2 separate regions of the Homo sapiens genome follow, and region 1 is linked to region 2. Evidence: promoter capture Hi-C in human tissues and cell types (Jung and others, 2019). All regions are on one chromosome and are shown on one strand. The core of a region is centred on a gene start or on the middle of the fragment in contact, and the rest is flanking DNA. Distances in the headings are between cores, read along the strand shown. Region 1 has its middle 12 kb from the start of LINC02198. Region 2 holds the start of CCDC125 (coiled-coil domain containing 125).

Evidence for each region. The method cuts DNA at HindIII sites, captures the fragments that hold promoters and counts their contacts. A contact is called where the count stands out against the background at its distance.
Region 1: a fragment that was not itself captured here is called in contact with the fragment with the promoter of CCDC125 in region 2 in 1 of the 25 tissues and cell types used here (hippocampus).

What each region holds. Positions count from the first base shown.
Region 1 is chr5:69,038,072-69,045,355 of GRCh38, reverse strand. No RefSeq gene overlaps it. Among named protein-coding and RNA genes, the nearest start is that of LINC02198, 12 kb to the right of the region's middle. The HindIII fragment of the contact is 3,546 bases long and covers 2,003-5,548 here.
Region 2 is chr5:69,330,593-69,337,770 of GRCh38, reverse strand. It overlaps CCDC125 (coiled-coil domain containing 125), which reads left to right and starts at 4,970. Exons shown (of 12, transcript NM_176816.5): 1 at 4,970-5,122. It also overlaps the pseudogene CHCHD2P2. RefSeq lists a silencer at 1,435-1,729. The HindIII fragment of the contact is 34,363 bases long and covers 1-7,178 here.

The sequences.
Region 1 (7,284 bases), core at 2,526-5,025, 290 kb after region 2:
CAGCTTCAGTTCCCTATGATTTCATCTCCTACCTAACCAATCAGCACTCCTGGCTCACTGGCTTCCCGCAACTCACTAAGTTGTCCTTAAAAACTCTGATACCTGAATGCTCAGGGCGACTGATTTGAGTAATAATAAAACTCTGGTGTCCTGCACAGCCAGCTCTGTGTGAATTACTCTTTCTCTACTGCAATTCCCCTGTCTTGATAAATTCGCTCTGTCTAGGCAGCGGGAAAGGTGAACCCATTGGGCCGTTCCAGGGTCTCCCAGTACACAGCTTCATCACAACATAAATGAATGCGGCTTGAGTAGGGGCTTGTATGTAGAATTCGAACCCACAAAGTTGAAAATCTTTCCTTTTCAATAGGCTCTGCAATTTGCCTGATAGCAGATTACAAGGACCACTAAGAACACTACTTCCAACCCAACATTATAAGCTACTTAACAGACTAAATATGTTATGAACATAATAAATTTAAAATAAACATATGAGAATCTGTATGACAAATGCATAACATTCCTTTGAAAGTTTTTTATTTTGTGATTTGGGGTGGGTGGGTGTTCACTTACACCACTGATGTTGGAAATGTGAGAACGTTTTGAAACTACAGAAACGATGTAGTTGGAGGACTAATTAGCCAGGTGTAACTCTTCCTTCTGTGAGACAAACAACTCAGAGAGGTTTCCACAAGTGCTTATTAACTGCTCTAAATACTTCTGTTCTTTCCAGAGAACAACAGAAAGATCAAGTCTAGAAAGTTGGTATAGAACTGATGGAAAATATGAGTTCAGATCAGATTAGTACAGAGGACATTTTAGAAAACCAAGTAAAACAACAGGAGTCAATCAGATATGTAACTGAGCAAGGCTGCTAGGATGTGTACTTACACAAGGTGCAAAGATGAAATTACTATTGAAAATCTGGTCATGGAAAGAATGCTGGTTTTTTGTTGTTGTTGCTGTTGTTGTTTGGGGTTTGTTACTGTTTTGCATTGTGAGTATGGGCCTTTTCCCCCCCAGCTCAACTCACTAACATTTCTTGTCAGTTAGACTAGACTCAAGTATTTAAAAAAGGCAGCCTTGGCCGGTGCAATGGCTCACGTCTGTAATCCCAGCACTTTGGGAGGCTGAGGCAGGCATATCACTTGAGGTCAGGAGTTTGAGACCAGCCTGGCCAACATGCAACATGGTGAAACCCCGTCTTTAATAAAAATACAAAAATTGGCTGTGAGTGGTGGCACGTGCCTGTAATCTCAACTACTTGGGAGGCTGAGGGAGGAGAATTGCTTGAACCTGGAAGGCGGAGGTTGCAGTGAGCTGAGATCGCGCCACTGCACTCCAGCCTGGGCAACAAGAGTGAAACCTCCGTTAAAAACAAACAAACAAAAAGGCCAGTCTTGCTTTCTGGGTGGACTAATGGCATTTAGCCAAAATGAAAAAAAAAATCATTAAGTTGAAAAACCCTGCGGGACAGGTTATGCCAAGAGGGTGAATTGGACAGCTTTACAGATGCCTCATGTTAGGAAATTTTCCTGGATTTGAGTCTTCAATGTGGGAGCAGAGTTACCTGAATATATGGAGTTGATGGAGACATTCCTTGATGAGAAGCAGAAATTCCCCAGGGACCTTGTAAATCTGAAGCAGATAAAGGGAAATGAAGAAACCAAGTTTTACAACTTTGATGAGTGGCAAAATTTGTCAATAAGAGCTAGATATTAAGTAATTAGCTTTTAGGAAGCAAAGTGTATTGGACTTGGCTATGATATGAAGGAATTCATTTAATAAATCAAAACGAAAACAAAAACAACAAAAACAAAGAAGCGAAGCATGAATCTCCTAATCAGCAGAAAAGGGAGGACAGCCGGAGACAATCGTATTCCTGATCGATACTGATGTAAACTTGTGCTGGAACAGTAAGTTCTTTGTTTTGTCTTGTTTTTATTTATTATTATTTTTTAAATCAAGGGAGATAACGCTTGTAGAGCCCCACACACTCAGAGCCCTGAGATAAAGGGTACACGCAATGGAGGCAGGGCATCCGGGATGTGAAGGGGGAGTTGTTTCGCGTTTGACTTACTTTGCTGTCCGAGAACGACAAATACATTGAAGTGCCACAACTTGGATAGGAATAAGACGGAAGGACAGAGAAGGATGACAAACTAAATCACACAAAGGCTCATGCGCCACAAGAACTATGAAACCTAGGTGTTCTGAATCTCTGGGTTTAGATTTCCGATTAAAAAAAATCAAACATTCTAGCTGTTACTTGTTATTAGACACTCGGTAGGGCACAGGAGAATCAAGTAAGGGCAGCCATTTGCTGAGTCTCATCTTATACCACAGCGCCACCTATTGGACGCTGATAAAAATACATCCGGAAGTACCTAAAACCTATTGAAGTCCTGTCTACACAATTTTGTAAGTAACTATAAATTCTAGAATCATAGGATTTCAGAGTGATGGGGCTTTAAAAGTCATTGGAGTCAAGTTTGTGTCCAACATTTGAATCACTTTTATAACATATTTGATTAGTGTTTAATTCTGCTCCAACATCTTCAGTGAATGAAAACACACCCTCACTAAGCAGCTCATTCTATTAATATGAATACTTTCACACACTATTACTTTTCACTCAGTGCTTCACCACTCCTTTCTGCAGCACCCGGACAGAACCTAGTGCTAGGTCTTTCCAGGGTTCTTGGGAGTGAATTGGTTTCACTTTCATTGGAATTCTTCTTTGCAGACCCATTGACGGTAGGCTCTGCTAAATCAGTTACTATGCACTTTCTGTGTTTCAAATTATTGCTCATATCTCCTGTCTTCTATTTCTCCTCTCTCATTCTTTTTTTTTTGAGTTTTACTTTTTGTCAAAAATTAATCTATTATCATTTTGATAGGTTTGGGAGGACAGAAGAAATAAAACAAGAAAGAAATAAACCCCACCATGTTTAATTAGGGGCCTAGTCATGTTTTTCTGATTCTGTTCTTTTTTTTTTGAGACGGAGTTTCCACTCTTGTTGCCCAGGCTGGAGTGCAATGGTGCAATCTCGGCTCACCACAACCTCCGCCTCCCGGGTTCAAGCGATTCTCCTGCCTCAGCCTCCCGAGTAGCCGGGATTAAAGGCATGCGCCACCATGCCCGGCTAATTTTTTTTTTTGTATTTTTAGTAGAGACGGGGTTTCTCCATGTTGGTCAGGCGGTCTTGAACTCCCGTCCTCAGGTGATCCGCCCACCTCGGCCTCTCAAAGTGCTGGGATTACAGGTGTGAGCCACCGCGCCTGGACCTGATTCTGTTCTTATGCACGAAAAAAATGTAAGCGTAGGGCTTTACATTTATTTCAGTTAAAATTTTTATTAAGTTTGGCTTATCGTTAGAGCCTTTGGATCTTCACTCTGCCATATTAAATATATTGGCTACCTTTCCCAGCAGTCAGAGAAGTGCATTAGCAAGCCAACTGTACACTCAACTATTTACTCAATGAACAGGACAAGTCTGCAAACAGAATTCCTTTACACTAGAAACTCTGGGCTGACATTGATTCATAATTAGCACCTATCTTTGTGATCATCTGGGCCACATTCTTCTGTCTTGTTCACAAGGTAAAAGTCTCTGTCAAATGCTGAGTTCAAATGGTGAAGCTGCGTATTGACAGCTTCTTCTGATTTGTCAGTCTGGCAGAGTTTGGATAAAAACAGAAGTCCTGTTAATTCATTAGTCATGACTTTCCCTATCTGAATCTTATGCACAATTAAATACTCCCCTTTCTTCTCTCCATGTTCAAGGTGGTGTTAGACAACCTGCCTGAGAATTGCACTATTGATTCCTGCCCCAGTTTCTAGAATTCTTTGTGATAACGAACAGCAGCTCATTTTGTCACCAATCTCTTCTAGGTATAGGCTAGGATGTAGTTTGTTGGGGCCAGGAGGTTTGCACCGATGTAGAGAACCCAGATGCTTTCTTATGATTTTTCCACCAGTTTGGATTTTTAGATCTTTTATCTTAATCCTTGTTGTATTATTTTCTGGCCAGTAATCTTTCTCCTTGGCAGAAATGAAAGATAGAAAATAGGAGATAAAGTGGTATCTGCCTCTATTATCCATCTTTCACTACTCTTGTATAATTCCAGAAAGTGCTCTTTTTAAAAAATTTCTTTTTGAGATGCAGTCTCGCTCTATTGCCCAGGCTGGAGTGCAGTGGCATGATCCTGGCTCACTGCAACCTCCGCCTCTCGAGTTCAAGTGATTCTCCTGCCTCAGCCTCCTAAGTAGCATGAACCGCCATGCTGGGATAGTTTTTGTATTTTTGGTAGAGACGAGGTTTCACCATGTTGGCCAGGCTGATCTCAAACTCCTGACTTCAGGTGATCCATACGCCTCAGCCTTCCAAAGTGCTGGGATTACAGGGGTGAGCCACTGTGCCCAGAAAAGTGCTTTAAGTCACTCTTTACATTTAAAGTTTATCTGCCTTTCTTTTGTGTGGTATAGAATCTGAAGTTATTTGGCTAGGCAAGCTTGCTGGATTTCTTCAATTTGACCTTTTAGATTCATTTTCCACCTTTATCCATAATTTTCTGTTCTGGGAGGCTGTCCTGTGTGGATCACAGCAAAGGCACCTATGCCTTCTGGCTTTCCGCAGGAGATGGGAGGGAGAGAGAAAGGAGCATGGGGTCAGGGCATATATTTCCTTGGTTCCTTCCTGCGAGGTTGACACAAGTTGCTGAGTCTCTCAACAGAATGTCACTGCTCTTGTCTAGGTGGCCTGCTCTATGCCATTCTCTTTTTGGGTTCTGGCAAGCTCTCTTTTACCCTATTCCTATACAGTTCCACTGCCACTATCTCTTATGGCTCTGCTATCCCCACTCACCCCTTTGTAATTAGTCCCTCTGTAAATAAAACCTCCTCCAATTTTCCTAATTCGTGTGTGCCATCTGTTTTTGTTCCTTGAGGTGGAGAGAACTGGACTGATACAGGAAGTTTAAAACAAGTGTGAGAGAAAGTTCTTCTATTGTATCAAGTTTTTTTTGGACCACGTGATAAACTATTCTTGGATGGTCCAGTAACTGACCCTTTGTAAAATTTTTGGTGTATCAGAGTCAAAGATAGAAACTATTTTATAAATTTTTTTAGGTTAGAAAACCAAGTGGTATTTTTTCTGATATTAATGCCTATGTAACTGAATGCTATATTCCAGAAATGATTAGTGATATTTTGGTTTCCAAACTGTTGGACAAAAAACAGGTATATGAAACACAGGAATAATTTCTAGAATATATAAGGAACTCCTACAAATCAATATGGAACAGACAAAAAATAAAGCAGAAAAATGGGCAAAGGGTATAAATAGACAAGTCACAGATGGAAAATGTATATGAAAAGATGCACAACCTCATTAGTAATCTGGAAAATGCAAACTAAAACAAGATAGCACTTCATATGCATTATAAGGGCAAAAGTAAAAAAAGTCATAGAATAGTCTTTGGGGAGTGGGTACAAGTGTAAATTAATACATCCACTTTGTTTATTTATATATATTTTATATTTTTATTATTTTTAAAATTGAGATGGGATCTTGCTATGTATCCCAGGCAAGTCTCAAACTCCCAGCCTCAAGTGATCATCCCACCTTGTCCTCCCAAAGCACTGGGATTACAGGTGTGAACCACTGTGCCTAGATGGTGCAACCACTTTGGAAAATAATTTGGCAATATCTTGTAAAGTTGAAAGTAAGCATGCCACAGGATCCAACAATTCCAATTCTAGGTACTCATTGGTCTAGAACTTTTTGCACATATGCACTAGGAGACATGGAAAAGGCTGTATATTATGGCACTGCTTGCAAAATATGAAAATTGGAAATAAGCTAATGCCCATCAAAAGGGGAATGTATAAATAATCAAGGTATGTTTATATGATGAAATGATGCAAAGTGGTTGAAATGAATGAACTCAATCAATATATATTAGGAGGCAATGAGGTTTTTTTTTTTTTTAAAAAGCAAGTTGCAGAAAGATGTATACTAGATGCTACTATTTTTTCCAAGTTGGGTAGAAATTAACACACAAAGAAAAGTATCTTTTGTTTGCAGATAGGTATATATGCAGCAAAATACAGGCTGAAAGACTAAGCCTAGGCCAAGTGCGGTGGCTCATGACTGTAATCCCAGCACTTTGGGAGGCCAAGGCAGGTGGATCACGAGGTCAGGAGATCGAGACCATCCTGGCTAACACAGTGAAACCCTGTCTCTACTAAAAATGCAAAAAATCAGCCGGGCTTGGTGGCAGGCGCCTGTAGTCCCAGCTACTCTGGAGGCTGAGGCAGGAGAATGGTGTGAACCTGGGAGGGGAGGCAGAGCTTGCAGAGAGCCAAGATTGCGCCACTGCACTCCAGCCTGGGTGACAGACTGAAACTCTGTCTCAAAAAAAACAAAACAAAACAAAACAAAAGACTAAGCCTAATTCATAGTAACAGTTCCTCATAGGGCACGGGTCTCCAGTCCCTGGGCCATGGATTGGTATGGTGGAAATAAGCTAATTTAGGAACTGGCTGGACAGCAGGTTGTGAGTGTCTGGCGAGCAGGCAAAGCTTCATCTGTATGTACCTATAGCCGCTCGCCATTGCACACATTACCTCCTGAGCTCCACCTCCTGTCAGATCAGTGGTGGCATTAGATTCTCATAGGAGCGCGAGCCCTATTGTGAAACATGCATGCGAGACATCTAGGTTGTGTGCTCCTTATGAGAATGCCTGATGATCTGTCACTGTCTCCCATCACACCCAGATGGGACCATCTCGTTGCAGGAAAACAAGCTCAGGGCTCCCACTGATTCTACATTATGGTGAGTTGTATAATTATTTCATTATATATTACAATGTAATAATAATAGAAATAAAGTGCACAATAAATGTAATGTTCTTGAATCATCCTGAAACCACCCCCTGCCCCCCATCTGTGGAAAAATTGTCTTCCATGAAACCAGTCCCCGGTGCCAAAAGGGTTGGGGACTGCTGCCCTAGGGAGTCTGAGGGGACTGAGACTGTGAGGGAACAAAAAGGCCATCCCACGTGGGTCCCCTTCTCACACTCTCGGGTGCTGGTCCTTCAAATGCTCTCTCTCAGGCCCCAGCCCCATCACGGCTTGCCTGTTCTCCTCTAGCACAAAGTCCCCCTTCAGGAGATTCCTCCTCATGAAGCAGCCCAAAGAGTGGGCACATAGCAAATTTTTCTCGTACTGAATTCACTCATTCGTTTTCCTTTTTTTTTTTTTTTTTTCTGAGACGGAGTCT
Region 2 (7,178 bases), core at 3,721-6,220:
CCCAGCTACTCGGGAGGCTGAGGCAGGAGAATTTCTTGAACCCAGGGGGCTGAGGATTCAGGGGGCTGAGGATTCAGTGGGTCGAGATCGCGCCATTTCACTCCAGCTTGGGCAAAAGAGCGAAACTCCGTCTCAAAAAAAAAAAAAAAGGCAGTTATTGAAGCTCAAAGTGTGACCTCTTCTAGGAGTGTTGAGAGGTTTTAAAACGGCATTCTTAGACCTCAAAAATCTTTCAAAGACACAAAGCTAGACAGTAAAAATTGTTAGCTCTGTGAAAACCATTAGCTCTGTGAAAACCAAAGTGCAAAGCACTTAATAATAGCAATAGTTGTTTCTTACTGTGAACCATGTGTCAGGCACCATTCTAAATATTTCACAAACAATTCATATAGCAGCCCTGTGTGGTAGGTACTGAATCAAGCCAATTTCACAGGTAGAGACGCTGAGGCTGAGCTTGGTAATTGTCAGAGCTTGATTTGAACCCAATGCCATGCTTATATACCTCCAAAGTCAGGCTCTTTTTTACTTCACGATGAATAGTTTTTTTTTCTGATATCACACACACATACACACACTAAATATATATTATATATATAATGTATATATTATATATATTATGTATATATTATATATATATATATGATTTTTGTAGAGAGAGACAGGGCTCACTGCATTGCCCAGGCTGGATTGCAGTGGTGCAATCATAGCTCACTCTAACCTCAAACTCCTGGGCTCCAGCAGTCCTCCTGCCTTAGCCTCCCAAGCAGCTAGGACTATAACTATGCTCATCCAATTTTTTTTAAGAGACAGGGTCTTACTATGTTGCCCAGGCTGGTCTTGAACTCCTGGGCTCAAGCAATCTTCCAGCCTCAGCCTCCCAAAGTGCTGGGATTACAGGTATGAGTCACCATGCTGGGCCTCACATGTTAGGTTTTAATGAGGTCTCTTAGTTTGCCGCTAGGATCAAGTCCTCTCTCTTTTTTTTTTTTTGAGACGGAGTCTCGCACTGTGGCCCAGGCTGGAGTGCAGTGGTGCAGTCTCAGCTCAATGCAACCGCCGTCTCCCGACTTCCAGCGATTCTCTTGCCTCAGCCTCCCGAGTAGCTGGGATTACAGGTGCGTGCCACCACGCCCGACTAATGTTTTGTGTTTTTAGTAGAGATGGGGTTTCACTGTGTTAGCCAGGATGGTCTTGATCTCATGACCTTGTGATTCACCCACCTCAGCCTCCCAAAGTGCTGGGATTACAGTCATGAGCCACCGTGCCCGGCCTCAAGTCCTCTCTCTTACCTCTCACTGATTCAGCCACATACAATTATTTTGATCACCTGCTATGCACCCATGGTGTTCTTGGCACTAGGAATCCTGCTGTGAGTGAAGCTGAGCTCCTGCCTGGGTAGAGCCTGGGCCACATGGGTCTCCCAGCTGTGCTTTGAAGTCACTGTCAAAAGTCCTGGGCACTGGAGAATTTCATGTGTCTGTTGCTAAGGCAAGATGCCAAATTCCACATTTGCCTCCAACAGGAACAAATGTCAGTTTCCACCAAGCCCCACCTTGTTCAGGTGACTCCTGTTGTGAGTCTTTTCATACCATCTCCCCTTCACCCACAAGTGCCACCAACAGGCAGAGGTGGGGAGCTGGGTTTGGAGATACTGGTCTGATCCTTAGGTGAACTCCTCTCCCCTGATGTTGCAGGAGAATGGGTGCTCAGATGGAGAATCAGCACTCTTCTCAGGATTGGAAGGTGCTGTGGCTGGGGGAGTCTGCATTATGTTCTGGGCTGTGAGCTTTTCCAGAATTCTGCTCCACAGGCACACATCTGCTGTGTATGTATTTCATGGTATAAATCAGATGTCCCTGAGTTCTCTAGTATTGAATGTCTATGTAAAAAGTGTCTAGCCCCAACTGAGGATGCTGGAAGTCTAGTCTGTTAGGAGGCCCCTGAATATGTGCTTGTCTTGTGTGACCTTCCAGGAGGTGACTCAGTTCTCTTTTGTTCTGTTTCTTGCTCTAGGCTATTGCTCCATTTTTTTGTAGGTCATCTCCTGCCACTTCTTCTCTAGGGTAATGCTGTTTGCAATACACAGTTCCTTGTCTTGGTTTCCCAAGCATCTTAGTTCTGAAAGTGAGATATGGGCTTGTCTGGGACGTGGGGGACAAAGATCAGGTGCCTCCACAAGTGACTCTCCTCAGCTCCCAGCCAGCTGACAACTGCATGGACTGATGGTCTCTTTCTTTCCTTATCTGCATGCTGGTTTCCAGGACTTTGCGCACCCTGAAGGAGCCTCATATGACCCAGTAGTTTCATTCCTAGGCAGCTTTTATATCTTTTATCATTTTTCTAAGCTTAAGACACCTTTGGTCAGCCACGGTGGCTCACGCCTGTAATCCCGGCACTTTGGGAGGCCAAGGCGGGCGAATCACCTGAGGTCAGGAGTTCGAGACCAGCCTGACCAACATGGAGAAACCCCCTGTCTACTAAAAATACAAAATTAGCTGAGCGTGGTGGTGCAGACCTGTAATCTCAGCTACTCCAGAGGCTAAGGCAGGAGAATCACTTGAACCCGGGAGGCAGAGGTTGCAGTGAGCTGAGATCTCGCCACTGCACTGCAGCCTGGCAACAAGAGAAAAACTCTGTCTTTAAAAAAAAAAAAAAAGACTCCTTTTCTTTCCTCATTAATTTGGCGGCCACGTCTGTCCGGAACTTGTGGGACGTCCTCGTCTTCATCAGGTTGGCAGATACTCCAGCATGGCCTGCCGGCCGCCGAGGCCACCATCCACAGGCTCAAGGGCTCCGTGGTCGCTCCTTCGTGCTCCCGCCTCCAGAGGGAGCCAGACAGTGCATCCTTGCAGTGGACGCCGCCCGCCCGCAAAAGCCTGTTTTTCAATGACTGCCTCTACCTCTGAACCTCAGCTTAGATTTCTCTCTCTCTCTCTCTCCCTCCCTCTCCCTCTCTCTCTCTCTCTCTCTCTCTCTCCCACCCCCACCTCCTCTTTTTAAGACAAAGTCTTGCTCTGTCACCCAGGCTGGAGTGCAGTGGCGCGATCTCGGCTCACGGCAAACTCCGCTTGCCGGGTTCAAGAGATTCTCCTGCCTCAGCCAAGCAGCTGGGAATACAGGCACCTGCCACCACGACCGGCTAATTTTTTTTTTGGAAGAAAATGACTTTATTCTAATTAACTCACAAAGAATAAAATCATAACAGCTAGTTTAAGGAGGCCACACAAACATTTGCCCTGTCACAGATTCTACAGAGTAGGAACACCCCCCTTCCATTTCAATTCTGAAGCAAGGAAGCTAGGAATGACAGGAGAGGTTTAACTCATGGTTACACTTTATACCCTCACTATCAATTCTATTTTTATACTAAATTAACTTAGTTATGAGAGCTGATTTTCCATCTCTCCAGGTTGAACTTCTTGATTAGGCCAATCCGTTTGCAAGTCGGCACTGTTTCAGCACCTCATTGAAACCCTCACAGAGCTTGATGTCACCCTGGTTCTGGGCACACTCCAGAAACTGATCTCATAGAAGCAAGGCTGCTGCTGCTGTGCCGGCTGGGTTCCCTGAGGCTCCTGGTAAGTGATGTCAGGCCTCGCAGGCTCAGCATTACTTCCTCCCCTGAAAGCCCCAGTAATGGCGTGACCCACAGCAGAGCCCACAGCCACGCCAGCTGCAGTGGTTGCCATCTGGGCCATCAGACCTGGCTGCCGGGGCGCAGCAGCAGAAGAGCCAACTACAGATGGGGGTGCCGCTGCTGGTGGCTGAACGACTGGTACTGGCCTGGGTGCAGCTCTCATCTGAGGGGGCCTGGCTGGCCGGAGGGGCCATGCGGGAGGTGCGGCTTCGGCTTCCACGCGGCATCCTAGGTACGCGACGGCTCGGCCTCCGGACGTGTGACGACCGGCTAAATTTTGTATTTTAGTGGAGATGGGGTTTCACCATGTTGGCCAGGCTGGTCTCAAACTTCTGACCTCAGGTGATCCACCCACCTTGGCCTCCCAAAGTGCTGGGTTAACAGGCGTGAGCCACCGCACCTGGCCCGATCTACCCTTCTCTTACAGGATTCCTAGAGACTTAATATTTTGGTTTTGGTTTGTTTCTTTTTTGAGACAGGGTCTCCACTCCGTCGCCCAGGCTGGAGTGCAGTGGTCACTGTAGCCTGGATCTCCCAGGCTCACGGGATCCTCCCACCTGACGGCCTCCCGGCCTCCTGAGTAGCTGGGACTACAGGTACGCACCACCACACCCGCTACTTTTTAATTATTTTTTTTTTTTGAGACGGAGACTCGTTCTGTTGCCCAGGCTGGAGTGCAGTGGCACGATCTTGGCTCACTGCAAGCTCCGCCTCCCGGGTTCACGCCATTCTGCCTCAGCCTCCTGCGCAGCTGGGACTACAGGCACCCGCCACCACGCCCGGCTAATTTCTTGTATTTTTAGTAGAGAAGGGTTTTCACTGTGTTAGCCAGGATGGTCTCAATCTCCTGACCTCGTGATCCACCCGCCTCGGCCACCTAAAGTGCTGGGATTACAGGCGTGAGCCACCGCGCCCAGCCCTACTTTTTAAATTTTTTGTAGAGCGGGGTCTCACTATGTTGGCCATGCTGGTCTCGAATTCCTGGCCTCAAGCGATCCTCCCGCCTTGGCCTCCCAAAAGCTGGGATTACAGGTGTGAAACCCCGCGCCGGTCTGAACCTCAATGTTTGAACCACCAAATTTTACCTGTATTGACACAGGCCCCGTCTTGTTGTTTTTCTAAATCTCATGTCATTGTTTGCATATTGGTTACCCGTGGTTGGCTTTGGAGCTGAAGGTGGACAGAGCTAACATCAGGTTGCACACAGGAACACAGTGAGGTCGCGAAAAAGTAGCGCGAGCTGCCTCCATGGCCCAGGGCGACCTCACCGGCGTTTCCTGTCTGGGACTGCGCCCACGCGGTCACGTGGTGGCCCGGAGGACGCGCGGCGGCAGCGGCGCACGCGCACGGAGAGGAGGCTACTTGCCAGGTGAGCGAGCTGAGTGGGGCGCCGGGGCGGTAGGAGGGTGCTGTTCGCTGAGCTGGAGTCCGGGCTCCGGTCCCCGCCACGGACCTTGAGAGGGTACCCGGGGTCAGACCTGGCAGGTGGGAACCGGGAGTGGGGAGGACCCAGGGCAGGGGCGGGATGCGCAGATTCGTGGAAACTCTGCAGGTTGTGGACAAACTGCCCAAATCCTTTTCCCTGAATGCCAGTTTAATGGCCTCGTCTGATAAGAAAAAAATAAGAAATAGATTTCAGAGACCCTATTTCTCTCTCTGCCTCTCCACCTGCTTTACTTTTTTTCTCTTCTGTTAATTTTGAGCCTTATAAAACTATAGCGCCAGTATCCTGGTTTGGATCCTGAAACAGAAAAAGACATTAGTGGAAAAAATAATAAAGGCTGTGGTTTAGTTAATAGCACGTACCCATGTTAATTTCTTAATTTCGACAAATTGTACACAAATGTTGACATTAGAGGAATTTGGGTAAAAGGTACACAGGAATTCTTAGTACTATCTTTGCAATTTACTGTACATCTAAAATTATTCTAAAATGAAAAGTTAAGAAACAAAATCCTAAAGCAAAGTGCAGCAGGCCATTGTTCACCAGGGAGGGCTCAAGTTAGTTCCTCTTTGTCATGGAGTTAGGCATGTTTGACCAACTTGTTTGCTAAGGCAGAGTTGTCAGGCTACTGAATGTAGATTCTTCTGTCCAAAGGTTTCCGGGCAGGAATCGGTTTTCTCTTTCGATTCTGTCAAATATCTTTGGAACACATGTTGTGCATAAGCAAACGAGACACACAAAGTCTCTGCATAAGGGAATATACAGTCAGTCTAGGTCAGGTAGGAAGTAAGCACTATTAAAAAGATTCAGTAAAACCTCCCAGAACTGGGAAGACTCAGATGTGGAAGAAATCACATCTGGTCCAAGGGAGTCAGGAAGGCTACTGGAGGGAGTGCTGTCCTGAACTGAGGGGGCTCTGAGAAGAAACAGCATTCCTGGGGTGAAGAATGGCACCAATAGAGGCTTGCAGGTGACCAAGCTGAGCTGAGGGAGGAGCCCTGGGAGCAAGTGCAGTTCCTCTTACGTGGAAGCGCAGAGTACATCCAGGGAGTACTGCCAGATGAAACTGGAGGTGAAAACTGTAGCTTTGTTGTAGAAAACAGGGTGACACTTCAGTTGGATACATTATTTTTATTTTTATTTTTTTGAAACGGAGTTTCGGCTGGGCGCAGTGGCTCACGCCTGTAATTCCAGCACTTTGGGAGACCGGTGAGCAGATCTCCTGAGGTCTGGAGGTCTAGACCAGCCTGGCCAACATGGTGAAACCCCGTCTCTACAAAAATACAAATATTAGCCGGGCATGGTGGTGGGCGCCTGTAATCTCCGCTACTGGGGAGGCTGAGGCAGGAGAATCGCTTGAACCCAGGAGGTCTAGGTTGCAGTGAGCCGAGATCGCACCATTGCACTCCAGCGTGGGTGACAGACAATAGTGCTGTCTCAGCTCACTGGAACCTCCACCTCCCAAGTTCAAGCGATTCTCCTGCTTAGCCTCCCAAGTAGTTGGGATTAAAGGCGCCCGCCACCATACCTGGCTAATTTTTGTATTTTTAGTAGAGACGGGGTTTCACCATGTTGGCCAGGCTGGTCACAAACTCCTGACCTCAGGTGATCTGCCCGCCTCAGCCTCCCAAAGTGCTCGGATTACATGTGTGAGCCACTGTGCCCAGCCTACATTTTTTTTAAAAAGGAAAACAGGGTGACATTGACTACAATTATACATGCCATGGGAGCCATGGAATGTTTTACAGCAAGAGAGAGACATCATTCGGTTTGCACTTGGATATTATTGACTTGGCAGCAGTATGTAGGTTGGCTTGAAGTAGACCAATTAGGAAATTATCAGGCTAGCCTTGGGGAATTAAAGAGACGTTCCACCAGGGCAGTGAAATTAATGTGCAAAGAATGACATAGTTTGGGGAGATTTTTTTGGGTCTAGAAGACCTAGCAACTGAAGGCATGTGAAGACCAAAGAGGAAAAAACAATTCCAAAGTTTTGCTCCTGAGTGTTTTGGAGCATAGTTGATGCATTTGCAGAAATAGAGGACTCAGAGGGAGACCTGGAATGGGGGCTGGGAGGATAGTGAATTTTTTTTTTTT